Linked DNA regions of Homo sapiens: region 2 is linked to region 1. Evidence: promoter capture Hi-C in human tissues and cell types (Jung and others, 2019). All regions are on one chromosome and are shown on one strand. The core of a region is centred on a gene start or on the middle of the fragment in contact, and the rest is flanking DNA. Distances in the headings are between cores, read along the strand shown.

Region 1 (7,482 bases), core at 3,794-6,293:
GGCAGTTTTAAACCAGGACTCCAGAATTCTTAACACTCCTCCCACTGAGAGGTGGGGTTAATGTTCCCTCCCCCTGAACCTGAGCAGGCTTGTGGCTGCTTCAACCATAGACTGCAACAAAAATGGCATGATGAGACTTCCAAGGCCGAGTCATAAAAGGTGATGCAGCTTTTTGCCTTTTTCACTCTAACCCTTGCTTTGGAGGTCCTGAGCCACCAAGTACAGACTCCAGCTAGTCTAAGGCTGCCACGCCATAAAGAGAGGCTGTGTGTAGTAGGTGCTCAAGTTCCAGTGGAACCCAGCCTTCCAGCCATCCTAGTATAGGCAACAGGCATGTTAGTGAAGAAGCTTCCAGAAGATTATAGCCTCCAGCCATCCTGTCACCCCTATCCATCAAGTCATCTCAGCCAAGACCTCAGACATTACAGAGCAAAGAGAAACCATTCTCACTGTGTCCTGTCTTGATTTCTCACCTGAAGAACCTGTCAGCACAATGAAATGGCTGTTTAATGGCACTAAGTTTGGGGATGGTTTGTTATGCAGCAGTAGAAACCTAAACTGTGGACATTAAACGACTGTGGATTACTGAAAGCATAATCAGGTGGTTATTTCAAGTGCTGCTACGGTTACAGGTGTGATCTATTTGCTAAAACAATTCCATACCTCTTCCAACATTCTGTAGGCAGCCGTTGATCTGGCCAATGATAAAATGGCCTGTTGAAGATTCTGCTGTGTTCCTAGTTGGGACACAACACTCTTGTGAGGATCTGGACCATACGCTGAACTAGAAACCATTAAATGGTGCAGTTTTTCTCATGGTCAGAATATAAGAGGTCTGGAAAACAGAGTTGAGGTGGGGAATGGCATATCTCACAGACATGCTGAATAATCTGCCTTCAGAATTTTTGCTTCTCAACCTCATGACTTTGTACCTGGCTGGTTTAGATTCTAGTACCCAAGAAAAACATGCTTCCACTTATGAGAATCGCTCCACTAACTTGCAAACAGAGCCACTTGGCCACTTCTGGCTCCTCATTGCCATTACCCAATCCTCCCCTCTCCAGCTGACTTCCAGTTACAACTCGTTGCCCAGAATTGTGCCGCATGGCCACCCTAACTGCAAGAGAGGCCAGTAAATGATGTGACAAAGGATCTGACTGGCTTAGAGCGACTGTGATGCTTGCCCTGCTGCTGGGCACAGTGCTGTCCTGGCCAAAACTGGGGCTCTGTTATGGAGAAAGAAGAGGAAAGGGATGTCTGTTAGGCAGCCAACTAACAGTGCTTACCACACATGACCTAGTGAAACGTTTTAGAAGCAGTATAACCCTACAGGACCTGAGGGCAGGAGAGCAGGCTGGGAACTAAAGAGCATCCATGCAGGGCATTGTTAGGGGCTTTTCTCTTAGAGTACAAAAAGATATTTAGAGCTATTGTTTCACATGCCTTTCTTTAAATGTGATTTTCAGTTTTTACCTCTGCCAACATCCACTAAAGTCTTATTTAATGGTATAACTTGGTGTGGTGTGGTGCTGTGAAGGTGAGAGATGAGACATAAACAATTTTGAGGCCTACCCTTAATGTTCACTCACCCCACTCTTTAAACCTGTTCTTTATTGAGTCCCACAGTCTATAATACCCTTCCAATAATAACAGTCTGTTTCTTGTACTTCCAAACAAAACATTTCTAAGTGGCACAAGATTTGGTACTAGAAGCAAAGTCTTCCATGAGTCTTGCATTCAGACAAATGCAAGAATTTTGTTTTGGTTACCTGGCTAGATGTGGTGAAAACAATGTGGTGAAAAATAATCTGGGATGGGAATCTAGTAGCTTACAGCATTTATTAGCAAAACACCTCCTTCAATCCTTGTACACTCTCACCTGAACTCTATCGTCCATTGCAGTTAAAGCTCTGGGATAGGCTTCTTGGTCCAGGCATCACCTCCACATGAACCTCTATTCCAGCGTCTATACCAAGAAATCAGCCTGATTTAAAATGATCTTCTCTCTTTTTGGGTCAAGAACCTTCACATATCATTTACATAAATATTACCTGTTTCCTGGTACATGTTTGCAAACTCCTACTACTGTTTTCATATGCAAGCTTTCTCCTGCTGCATGACTTAAATTGTTCAGTTGAGGCAATGTAGAGGTTAACTCTAGTTACAGGCCTGGAGACATTGGGGTGGGAGAGTAGGAGGGAAGTGCCTTTGCTTCCCTGCTAATTCCCTCATGAGACAGTAAGGGAACCTGCAATCAGATAAACGTGGGGGTTGTTTAACAATGGAGGCTCAGTAAGAGTTGGGGATTCTGGGGACTCCCAATTCTCCAATTTACTCCCATTTCAAATCCCAGTGTTCTATGCTTTTCTGATCGTGGCCCCAACCTTTACTAAGAGAACTGAGAAGGCTGCGAACTCACTGAGTTTTGTAATTTGGAAAGGTGATGGGTCAAAATTTTAAAGTTTGGTTTTTAGTTGTTTTATTCTTGTGCCTGTAAAAGATAAGTAATTCCTTAAGCATTGTTATAGAAATTCCCTCTGTGACCCAAACCAAAAATTCGAGGAATTTGGCTGTCATTTAGATGATCCCAAACCATCATGAGTGGCCATCCTATCCCACAATTCTTGAAATCCTGTGCAACCATCACCAAAATGTAATTTTAGAACCTTTTTTTATCACCTCAAAAAGAAACTCTGTGCCCATTAGCAGTCATTCCCCATGTTCCCCTAAATTCCTAGGCCAAGGCTACCACTAATCTGCTTTTTGTCTCTAGATTTGCCTAGTCTGGATATTTCCTATAAATGGAATCACACAAAATGTGGCCTTTGGTGAATGGCTTCTTTCACTCAGCATAATGCTTTCAATGTTGTATCCATGTTGTAGCATGGATCAGTACTTCATCCCTTTTTACGGCTCCATTGTATGAATAGACCACATTTTGTTTATCTATTCATCTGTTCATTTTGGTTGTTTCTACCTTTTGGCTATTGTGAACAGTTCTTCTATGAACATATGTGTACAACCATCTATCTAAAAATCCATTTTCGATTCTCTTGGGTCTATACCTAGGAGTAGAATTGGTGAGTCATATGGTAACTCTGTGTTTAACCTTTCAAGGAATTGCCAGACCATTTTCTAAAGTGGCTGCATCATTGTACTTGATGGTACTCATGGTTTGGTCAGACAACACCCAGTTTATCATGGGCAGGTCAGGTCTTAAGACCACATGTATCACAGTCATTCCGTTTCAGTAAATAATTACAGCAAGCCAGGAGCTTTTCCTCCTGGCAAATTATTATTTTTTGTGTGTGGAGGTCTTAGCTTTAAGTTTATTTCAAATTCCAGAGGGCTGAACTGTGAGTCTCTTATTAAAGCTTGGAAAAGGCTCTGTGTAGCATCCTAATGGGGTATGCCATCTCCAGAAAATGGCCCACTGAGTGTCATGCTTCTTTTTTAGCAAGCAGAGGGTTCCAAGTAAGGCAACTTGTCTTTCTCTTTGGAGGGACCGTCTCAACATGCCTCAGCCCACTGCATGCCCAGGAAGTTCACTGAGGTATCACCTCCCTGAATTTTCAAGGGGCTTCTCTCTCACCTTGTGGTGAAATATTTGCCACTTCCTATGCATCAGGTCCACTCAGCATGATGTCTTGGGGTACAGTGAGATGATCAAATCAGTTCCCAGGGACTCAATTATGATAATGTGCCAGAGGCTTCCTTTGTTCTTTCCTTCCATTATCACCCTCAGTCCTTGAGTCAGGAAGCCCCTCTGGGAATTTATCCAGCTACCAATTGTGTTTATTACAAGTATGGATTCAAGAACCGGGGAAAGAGCCACAGGGTGGCTGATAGTGAAAGGGACGTGGGCTGACTCCACTTCTGACCATTGGACCAAGTGGCATTCTACTTCCCCAGTGATTCACACGGGCTAGTGCAAGCCCCTGGTAAATGGCCACGGGTCCCACGAGAAGGGAGGAGGCAGGCTGAAAGTACACACTTGTAGCGTTACATGTGCCTGGCCTCACCTTTACAGGCTCACCTCACGGGCTCTGGCCTGTGGACTGACTAGATCTGGGAATTAGATGAGGCACCATGATTTTCCATTGTGGTGATTCAAGGCAGAATGCCTTTAGCCAGACCTAGAGTTACCGGGGTTATACAGATCATGATGGCTTACTACAGGACACTGTGATCAATTAGACACCACCAAAGATCCCTGGGGAGAAATCAGTTTGGTTCCAGCTTCCAGCCCTGCTGCCTATCATGATACCCAGGCTCATCCTGTTTCTATGAGATTTAGTGCCAGTGCTTTGTCTCTGCTGTTTGGCGTGAAGCCCGGTCGTAGAGTTCAAATTGAGGTGTGCTGTGAGCATAAACGCACACACCGGAAAGTCTTTGCGGGGACAAAAAAAAAAAACCAATGTAAAATACCCCATTCATACTGTTGTGTTTTGCCTATATGTGGAAATGATAATATTTCGGATACGCTGGGTTAAAAAAATTCATTATAAATCATTTTCACCTTTTTCTTTTTACTCTTCTTTCATGTTGCTGCTGGAAAATTTAAAAGTCAACATGTGGCACGCACACTACTCCTATTGGCCATCTGCTCTAGCTGGATGGGAACTGCAAGCAGCAAAGGCCTTTCAACCTCTCCGAGCTTCAACATGTTCACTTATGCATCAGGACTGATCCAACAGCAACCTGAAAGGGTCGGTGTGAGAAAGCAAAGAAAGAGGTACTGTTTACGGAGCGTTCAGCCGTGAGCCCAGGCGCAGGCGCGGAGCTAAACCCGGAGGTGAAGCAACTACAGCTGGGGCCACGCCCACAGACTCCGGGCTGTCGGGGCGGGCGGCACTCGCGCTTCCAGCCTGGGCCAACCAGGCTGCTTGAGGCTCGAAGCGCATGCGCGGTCTCGCCCTCCGTACTGGCCGAGCCAGCAAATCGCATTGCGCAGACGACCAGCGGGCGCCTCGGATTCCGCCCCCGGGATGGCCCCGCCTCCTCCCGCCCCGCGGCAAGGCACGCACAGGGCAGTGCGCGGGTGGGTGGGTCCTAGCAGCGCGGCCTGACGGGACCAAGGCGGCGGGAGTCTGCGGTCGTTCCCTCGGCTGTGGACCGGGCGGCACGCACGCGGTGCAGGGTAACATGGCGGATGCGGAAGGTAAGGGCTGCAGGCTTCCGGGCCGTGCTAACTCCGGGCGACTCGGGGAACGGGGGTGGGGGGATGGTATCGGGGCCCGCGCACGCCTCCCTCTGGTTCCCGCCGGCGTGTCGGCCTCTTCACCGCCCGGCCTTAAGCCGGCCTTGTCTCTCGGCCCTGGCTCCGTGGCAAGGGCGCGAGAGTGGGAGCCCCTCGCGGTGACTTGGCATGATGGGGCTCGGCCCTCTCACCTCCCTGGGGTCCGGGTCGCCGTCGAAAGACATCTGCCGTGCTGCCCACCCCGCGGTGGCGTGGGACGTGGCAGTGTCTGTGCTGCTGCCAGCCCGGACGCCGCCGTTACAGCTCCATGCGACTAGGGGAGCAAGGGTAGTGGAAACGGGCCGAGAAGAAAAGGAGCGGAGGGACCCCGGAGCAGGGATAGAGCTCCGAGTTGCAAGAAAGTTCTAGAGGCCACAAGCCCGCGGGGACAGTCGAGTGGTCGCTTATGGAACTTTCCGGCCCCCTGCGTGAGCGCTTCTGTGGGATGTTTAAGCTCTGCCATAGCCACGTGGTGAACCGGAAGGGAAGCCGACACGTGCAGTAGCCTACAGTCAGTTACCCAGCCATGGGACCCATACATTTGGCCTTACACACCTTGTTTTCTCGCTTACCTACGGATATACGTTCTAAGAAATGGGTCGTTAGGCGATTTCATCATTGTGTGAACATCAGAGGGCTCTTACACAAACCTAGGTGGCATAGGCTACTACACACCTAGGCTGTATATGGTGTAGCGTATGGCTCCTAGGCTTCAAACCTGGACAGCATGGTATTGTGCGGAATGCTGTAGGCAGTTGGGACACAGCGTCGAGAGTTTGTGTACTTAAACATGTCTAAGCAGAAAAAGGACAGTAAAAATATAGCACAGGGCCGGGCGCGGTGGCTCAGGCCTGTGATCCCAGCCCAGGCTGGCGGATCACCTGCGGTCAGGAGTTCAAGACCAGCCTGGCCAACATGGTGAAACCCCGTCTCTACTAAAAATACAAAAAATTTAGGTGGGCGTGGTGGTATACGCCTGTAATCCCAGCTACTCGGGAGGCTGAGGCAGGAGAATTGCTTGAACCTGGAGAAGGAGGTTGCAGTGAGCCGAGTTTCTGCCACTGCACTCCAGCCTGGGGAAAGAGTGTGACCGTCTCAAAAAAAAAAAATTATATATATATATAAATATGTGTGTGTATATATGTATATTATATATGTATGTATTATATGTATGTATATTATATATATATAGTACACAAGGTTATAAGTGGTGCACCCGTAGAGGAGGGCACTTACCATGAATGGAGCTTGCTGAGCTGGAAGTTGCCCTGGTTGAGTCGGTGACTGAATGTGAAGGCCTCAGACATTACACTACTGGAGACTTTATAATCTGTACACCTAGGCTACACTAAATTTATAAAAATATATTTTTCTTCAGAATAAATCAACCTTAGCTTACTGTAACTTTATAAACTTTTTACTTCGACTGTTGTAATAATACTTAGCTTAAAACAAACACATTATTTAGCTGTACGTAAATATTTTCTCTGCTTATCTCCTTATTTATAAGTTTTCTATTTTAAAATTTTTTAATTTTTTTCTTAAAAAATTTTTTTTTGTTAACTAAGACACAAACACAGCACACACAGTAGCCTTGACCTACACAGGGTCAGGATCATCAAGACATCACTAGGAGATAGGAATTTTTCAGCTCTGTTATAATCTTATGGGGGCCACCATCACATACGCAGTCTGTACTTGCAAAACATTATGTGGCATGTGACTGTAATTGTAGACCTAAAATCCATTTCCTACCTGCCCTAATTTCGGTCTTTATTTTAAACCCTTGTTTCATTTATTCTTGGGGAAAATTCCCAAATCCTGTGTTTGTTTTTTTAGTAATTATTTTGCCAAAGAAACATAAGAAGAAAAAGGAGCGGAAGTCATTGCCAGAAGAAGATGTAGCCGTGAGTAGTAATGTGTTTGACTTCACTTTGACTAAAAAGAAAGTTTACTTAAATAACAAACTAAAGGAAAGAAGTGTTTTTAAAGGTTTCCAAGGAATGGGCCAGCATTGGTAGTCATTGTGTAGATTCGAAAAAGCACTGAAATGACACAGCCCCAGACAGTCCAAGTGTCCTTCAGGCATAGCTTACTAAATGGTGCTGGCCTTACCAACTGCTGTCTCTGAATTTGTCTTCCTTATGCCACCCACAGACCCGCCATCCCCCTTTCTCTTTAAATGTTTGGACCCATCTTAGTGACATTTCACTTCCCCTCTGTACTCCTGGTTCATTTCTTCT
Region 2 (7,599 bases), core at 2,279-4,778, 280 kb after region 1:
GGACTGTATGAGCTGCTATATTGAGAATAGATTCTAGGGGGTGAAAGTGGAGGTAAGAAGTCCAGATGAGGAGCTGTAACAGTAACCTACATCAGAGATCATGGTATAGACCCAGCAGATAGAAAGTGAATACACAGAGCAAAGAGGTTCTAGGACTGAGCCTCAGAACAACCTAACATTCAGAAGTCAGAAAGAGGAGGACTCAGCAAAATTGTCTGATAAGGAATGGCCAGTGATATATGAGGAAAACCAAGAGAGAATGGTATTCCAGAGCAAAAAGATGTCAAGAAGGAGAGAGTACAATAGCAGAACAACAAATAACCTGATTTAAAAAATGGGGAAAAGACGTGAACAGACATTTCCCCAAAGAAGGCATAGAAATGGCCACCAGAGGTATATGAAAAGATGCTTAGCATCATCAATTATCAGGGAAATGCAAATTAAAAGCACAATGAGATATCAACTGGCACTTGTTAGAATGGCTGTTATCAAAAAGACAAGAGATAATTGTTGATGAGGGTGTGGAGAAAAAGGAACCCTAGTACACTGTTGGCGGGAATGTAGATTGTTACAACCATTATGGAAAACAGTATGGAGGTTCCTAAAGAAATTAAAATTAGAACTACCATGCGACCCAGCAATTCCTCTTCTGAGTATATACCCCAAGGAAATGAAATCACCACCTCATAAAGATATCTGCCCTCTCATGTTCAGTGCAGCATTAATTTATAGTAGCCAAGATATGGAAACATCCTAAGTGTCCATCAATGGATGAATGGATAGAGAAAATGTGTCTACAATGGGATACTATTTAGCCTTAAAAAAGGAGATTGTGCTGTTTGCCATAGCATAGATTTTGGAGGACATTATGCTAAGTGAAGTAAGCCAGACATAGAAAGACAAAATACTGCATGATCTCATATGTGTGGGGAAAAAGTCATATATACAGTTGTATAATATAATAAATATAAAGAAATAAAACTGGTTACCAGGGATAGGATGGGAGGAAATGGGAAGATGTGGGTCAAAGGATACAAAGTAGCAAATATGTAAGAGGAGCAAGTCGAGAGATCCAATGTACAGCATGAGGACTGCAGCTAATGCAATTGTATTGCCTTAGGGATTTCTGTGAATTAAGTGGATTTTAGCTGCTCTTATCACAAAAAAGTAACTATGTGAGATGATAGATATATTAATCTGATTCATTATAGTAACCACTTTACTTGTCTATATGTATCCCATAACATCATGTTGTAAACCTCAAATATACACAATAAAATACCTTTTTTAAAAAAAGGAGAGAGTAATCAACTGTGTCAAAAGCTGCTGTAGGTCAGATGAGATTAAAGCTGAGAAGTGAACACTAGCATTTGGTAAGGTCAAGATCAGTGGTAACCTTGATAGGAATGGTTTCATTGAAGTCATGGGACAAAAGCCTGAATGGTGTAGGTGTGAGAGAATATGGACACAGGACAAAAGAGACGGCCTCAAAGTAGTTTTGCTGTAAAGGAGAGCACAGAAAAGGGAAGGGGGCTGGAGAATTGGAGTCTAGGGAGGATTTTTTCAACAATGGTTAATGATTACAGCTGATAGGTGTTCAGCAATGAAACAACAAAATCTCTGCCTTCATGAAGCTTACATTTTAGTATCGGGTGGGGGCAGGAAGATAGACAGTAATAAAGAAACACATAATTATATTAAACTGGCTACAAGATGTTGCCACTCAGATATCATATGGACATTTTGCATTCAACATATTCAAAATGACATTATCTCCTCCCCTCCCTTCCCCCACCTTTTCCTCTATTCCTCTTCCTTGTTTTTATATTGTAAAAAATGCCACATTCAGGACAGAATCTTGTGCCTTATCCCTTGCAACCATCCTGTCCTCAAACTCAGGAGTGTTTTTTTTTTTCTTCACAAACAGTTCCTCAGGTCTGCTCCCTCCTTGCCATCTCTACCTCGGCCCATTGGCATTCACTTCTCTTCTGGATCGCTACCTCACCGTCTTAACTAGAGTCTCTGCCTTCGTCCTCCCCCTTTAATCTCTTCTCCACAATGTAGCCAGAGTCATCTTTTAAAAATATAACCTGAGAGTTTTAAGGGACTTACTCAAGACCACAAGATTCATAGAGCCAAGATTTGATTTCCTTATGTCATGCTCCTCTTGGGGCTGGCTTTATGTAGGGGGTAGGAAGGAGCTAGGTCATCTTAAGCTAAGTAAGATATGAACATTGCCAGAAATGCATGTTTGTATGTAACTGACAGCTCATCAATTTGTCTGATGTTGGTTTGTTTTTGTAGGTGCACAGGTTTCATATTCCAGAAGGTTGGAAAGTTGGCTGCAACAGCTGTGGGAGGTGGATTTTTTCTCCTTCAGGTCTGTATGTGAAATGTTCTCAGATGTTTGGAAATTCCACCTGCCCATTAAGGAATGTGGTGTGGGGAGTTGTAATACAGTCCTGGCTATGTCACACTAGACTAGCCTTAGCACTTGTTTTCATGTACTATTTTAAATGCTAGTGACCGTTTGAGTCAAATTTTATTCATTATACTAGTAAATGTTATTTGCCAGTCCCATTTTATTTCCTCATGTGGCGACAGAAGTGCAAATTCCTTATCATAGCTCCCTTAAAAGAGTTTTTAAGACCAGCTGAATTATTAAGCGGATGTGATTTCAAAAATACAAGTGTGCTGTGATGATTTAGTGTCATATGCTAATATTATAGCTAGCTTTCACAGAGGGGATGTTGAGCATGTGATGAGAAATGGGAGCTAAGTGACAGTACAGTCAGATGTCGTCTGCTGTCTCCTTGACCCATAGTTTCAGAACCAGTGGTTGCCAGTTCTCTGAGACTGCTTAGGAGAGACTAACAAGCAAGACTTGAAAAAGGGAGCAGTTTCTCCAAAAACAAAAGAAAACTGACATTTGATTGTATTAGGCATACATTTCTTAGCTCTGTGGCATTGGTATTCAAATTTGGCTCCACATTGGAATCACCTAGGAGTTTTTAAAAGAGCCAACGTGTGCCACTCCTGACCCACAGTCTGATTTCATTGGAAAACTTAAAACTCCTGAGGTGATTCTGCTGTGCTGTGGGAGCCATAACTTGCTGAATCATGCCAGAGTCTCTGAATTCACAGCCGTTTGTCTCTTCCCACAGTTGGCAACCCTCACTTTTGCAAGGTAAGTTCTGCATTAGCACCATGATTGGAGTGAGTTTTGCAGATAGGTCAGGTGAAAATCAAATGTATCGAAGAGGGAAGCTGGTAACTGGCTGTAGCTGGGTTGAGTGTGGTATTGCTGCATGACAAATTCCCCCAAACCTAATGGCTTCAAATAATGATCACTTTATTCTCTCTCATGGTTACAGGAGTTTGGGGAGGGTTAAGGTAGGTGCTTGTGGATCAGAGTCTCATGTGGTTACAGGCCAGATGATCAGAGGGTTAGGGTAGGTCTGGACTTGTGGGGCCTCTTTGTGTCTCTGTCTCTGTTTGTCTTCCCTCCTCCTCTCCTTATTTCCCCCCTGTCCATAGTCTCAGTGCTCTTCCATGTGGTCCCTGTGCCAGTATAGGCTTCCTCACACTACCATGACCTCAGGACTCCCAAGCACAGTTCTGCAGAAACATGGTGCAAGTTGCATCTCCTTTGTTGCCCAAGCCTCACTTTTGTTGGCTGCTTCCCTGTGGGCTTGTTACGTGCTGGCTCTGTTGCTAGACAGGTCAGACTCCCTGCAAGGTGGGGCCCCTCCTCACACCTCTCTCTCCTTCCCCTTGACCCTTCAGGTGGAAGTGCAGTAACATCTCTATCCCTGTGGTTTCCCTTATATGCTGCCCCAAACTTCATAAACATTTTAATATTGCTTTGAAATGTCTTAATTTGAGTGTGTCCTCTGTTTCGTTTTGGGGCCCTGACAGAAATAATTGGTATTGAAAATGTCTCCAGAAAGGCACCTCAAAATGAGATTTTGGGGTTGGATAATTCCAATATTCAAGGGGTACAGGGACACTGCTTTGCTGCAGAGGTGAGACATGGAGAATCTGTGGCAGGCACTCATGTTATCTGTCACCAGGGGAGTGAGAGCAGGAGGCAAGCATAATGTTGGGAGATCAGTTATATCACAAGTTATAGTTTGACATAGGGATCCAGTTTCCTTTTTTCCATACTGATAATTGAGCAGAATTTAGTGAATAATTCTTCCCTTTCCCAACATTTGCAGCATTGTCTCTTTCATATATCAGAACCCATGTATGTGTGGCTGTGACTCTGGTTTCTGTGTTCTGTTCCACTGGTCAACTTTCGATCTTTATGACAGTACTAAAGCTTAATATTTGGTAATGCAAATTCCTCCACCTTATTCTTCAGGAGTGTTGCAGCTACTTTTGTGTTTCTGCTCATTCATCTAAATTTTAGATCAGACTTGTCAGTTATTTTCAAAAATCCTGTTGAAATTTTTATCGGAATTGCATTGGAACCATGTAGATATCTCTTATGATATTGAGTATTCTATCTGTGAACACGGGCTTTCTCTCCAATTATTTAGGTCTTCTTTAATGCCTTTGAATAGACTTTTTATTATTTTTCCGTATAGATCTTGTACATCTGTGATTCAGTTTTATTCCTGGATACCTTATAACTTTAGTTGCTCTTGTGGATGATACGATTTTTAAAACTACACATTCTGATTCATGCTAGTGTGTTGAAATACAGTTGATATTTTATGTTGCTCTTTCAGCCAGCCACCTTGTTAAAAAAGTCTTGTCTGGGATTCTTTTGGGTTTTGTCTATAAAATCTTTTTATGCCATCTGTGAACAGTGAAATTTTTCCTTCACGTCTTTATGAATGTAGTTGCTTTTTCTTACCAAGCTGTAGATCATTTCCAGCACTTTTTGCAGCTTTCAGAGCCCAGCAGCAACGCTTGCCAGTTTTCAGTTTATTCGGCTCCCTCTACTTGTTGTGCTGCAATGGAAGTAGGATGTTGAGCTTTGTCAGTAGAGGGCGCTGGAGGGACCTTGCAGCGGGAGAGGCTGCTTTTCCCAGTTCTGGTGTTGCTTTGCCCCTGCAGTGCAGTCCCCCAGTAATGCCAAGGAGAGCAGGAAGTCACCTCGCAATCCTGGCCTGGGCCACCCAGGGGACTTCACCACCACCATTACTACTTTTGCCCCCTTGTGAAAAATCAGTTTGTTGTAGTTGTCCACGTCCGTTTCTGTACTTTTTATTCTGTTCTGTTGGTCTGTGTGTCTATCTCTTCTTCAGTATGACACACTGTCTTGACTACTGTAGCATTATAGTAAATCTTAAATCAGGTAGTGTGATTTCCCCAACTCTGTTCTTTTTCAGATTCATTTTGGTGATTCCAGTTCCTTTGCCTTTCCATATAAATCTTAGAACCGGCTTATTTATGTATCTATAAGAAATCCTACTGGGATTTGTGATTTGGGATTGCAGTAAATCTATGGATAATTTGGAGAGAACTGGGCATCATTTCTGTGTTGAGTATTCCATTCCATGTACATGATGTGTCTCTCCATTTATTTAGGTTGTCTTTGAGTTCTTTCTTCAGCATTTTGTAGTTCTCAGTATACAGATCCTGTATGTTTTATTTGATTTGTACCTAATATTTAATTATTTTTTGCACCCATTGTTGTAAATCATTTAAACATTTTTCATTTCCAGTTCAAATTGCTAGCATATAGAAATTCAGTTGGTTTTGTGTGAATTTGTGTCCTGTGACCCTGCTAAACTCACTTTTTTAGTCTAGGAGTTTTTGTTTTTTGTTGAAGTCTATGAAATTTTCTATGTAGACAAAGATGTCTATGATTGGAGACAGTTTGACCTCTTCCTTGTGAATCAGGATGCCTCCTAATTCTTTTTCTTGCCTTGTTGTGCTGACTCTGAATTCACTTCTGGTACGATATTTAATAGGAGTGGAGACGGCGGACAGCTTTGCCTTGTTCCCTGCATTCGTTCTTTCACCATTCTGTACAGTGTTAGCTGCAGGGTTTTTTATGTAGATGTTCTTTATCAAGTTGAGGAAGTTCCCCTCTATTGCTCTTTCTCTGAGAGTTTTATCATGAATTTGCGTTGAATTTTGTCAGATGTTTCTTGAGTCCTGCCTTGAGGTTAGGCCAGGCGATACTGCAGGAAAAGCAGGAAACACGCCACCAGTTTGGTGGTGCTTTGAATTCTGGTCTTCTCCAATCTGCACGTCGCTGTTTTTATGTAAGAGCCTTCAAATAGCTAGTCCATGTATTCTCTCAGTTTAATAGCAGGATTTTGTGGGATAAACAGGGTGGAGTAAATGAACCAGAGCCTTCTTTTAGATACAAATGTTGATACTCAACTATGTGGTTGCTGTAAGTAATTTGTTCTTTTTAGTACTAAGTAATATTCTATTGTGTAAATATGATACAATTTGTTTATCCATTCATGTGTTGATAGACTTTTGTGTATTTCCAGTTATAGACTCATAAATAAAGGTACTATGGCTTGATTACTTGTGAAGTTGAACTTTTTCCTTTTTGTGGACACTTTCCTCTGAATTGCCCTTACCCATTTTTAAAGTGAACTTTCTTACTGATCTCTATAAGAAGTTCACTTTTTTGAGTATCAATGTTTTGTTTATGATACACATCACAAGTATTTTCTCTAGTCTGTTTGGGTGACTGGTGGTGCCATTAGCTAAAATAGGGCCTAGAGGAAGAGCAACAATGCAGGAGGAGACTCTAGCAAGGTGAAGACTTTTAGTTTCAGATATTTTGAGATTGCCAAAAATTTGGTAGAGAGAAGTGATATTGATAGGGCATTGATTGATTGGCTACAGTCATTCTCTTCATTCCTAGGATGATATTAATCCATCATCAAAATCTACATGCTTGAATCAGATTTACACTGAGTTTTAGTGTTTGTGCCTGCTGTTTTTATCAAGGGAAATAGGTATATGCTGTAGGTGTCTTTGGATGTGGTTCTCTTAATATCCGTTTATATGAACTTGCTCATGAGAAATCTCTGTGGGGCCAGATGCTAGATTTCTTCCTGTTAAGCAACAGTAATAACTGCCTGAATGCTTTGCTCTGTTCACATTGTCAGGAAACTGACACTCATGGGCACATTGTCAGAGTCATTCTCTGGAAACATTTGTATTGGCTGTAAGGTCCATCTCTTCACCCTACATCTTGACCCCCCACCTTGATTTTCATCTTATGTAACTCTTTGTAAAAGGGTTGTAAGAGTATAAATAATTTAAAAGAATTGCCAGTAGTTATTTCTAGTGCCAGGCATATGGCTTCGCATATAGGGGGGATGCTGAGTAGATGTCATCATGATACAAAGAATCAAATGGCAGATGTCTCCAAAAATGGAAAGTCAGAGGGTTTCGAGAGTCTACTTCAGGATTTATCCTGACTAAAAGAAATAACAAATCTGTTTCTCATTTCTTGTTGTCATTATTGTTGATACTGTAGCTTGCAAACCATACTGGGTACATCAAAGTTGACTGGCAACGAGTGGAGAAGGACATGAAGAAAGCCAAAGAGCAGCTGAAGATCCGTAAGAGCAATCAGATACCTACTGAGGTCAGGAGCAAAGCTGAGGAGGT

What was found. The method cuts DNA at HindIII sites, captures the fragments that hold promoters and counts their contacts. A contact is called where the count stands out against the background at its distance.
Region 2: a fragment that was not itself captured here is called in contact with the fragment with the promoter of DKC1 in region 1 in 1 of the 25 tissues and cell types used here (lymphoblastoid cells).

Annotation. Positions count from the first base shown.
Region 1 is chrX:154,757,821-154,765,302 of GRCh38, forward strand. DKC1 (dyskerin pseudouridine synthase 1) reads left to right here and starts at 5,044. Exons shown (of 15, transcript NM_001363.5): 1 at 5,044-5,161; 2 at 7,079-7,146. The coding sequence starts at 5,146. RefSeq lists enhancers at 4,665-4,724, 5,475-5,574 and a silencer at 4,825-5,124. The HindIII fragment of the contact is 8,972 bases long and covers 2,739-7,482 here.
Region 2 is chrX:155,044,205-155,051,803 of GRCh38, forward strand. It overlaps FUNDC2 (FUN14 domain containing 2), which reads left to right. Exons shown (of 5, transcript NM_023934.4): 3 at 2,305-2,380; 4 at 7,466-7,597. Among named protein-coding and RNA genes, the nearest start is that of FUNDC2, 21 kb to the left of the region's middle. The HindIII fragment of the contact is 7,075 bases long and covers 1-7,066 here.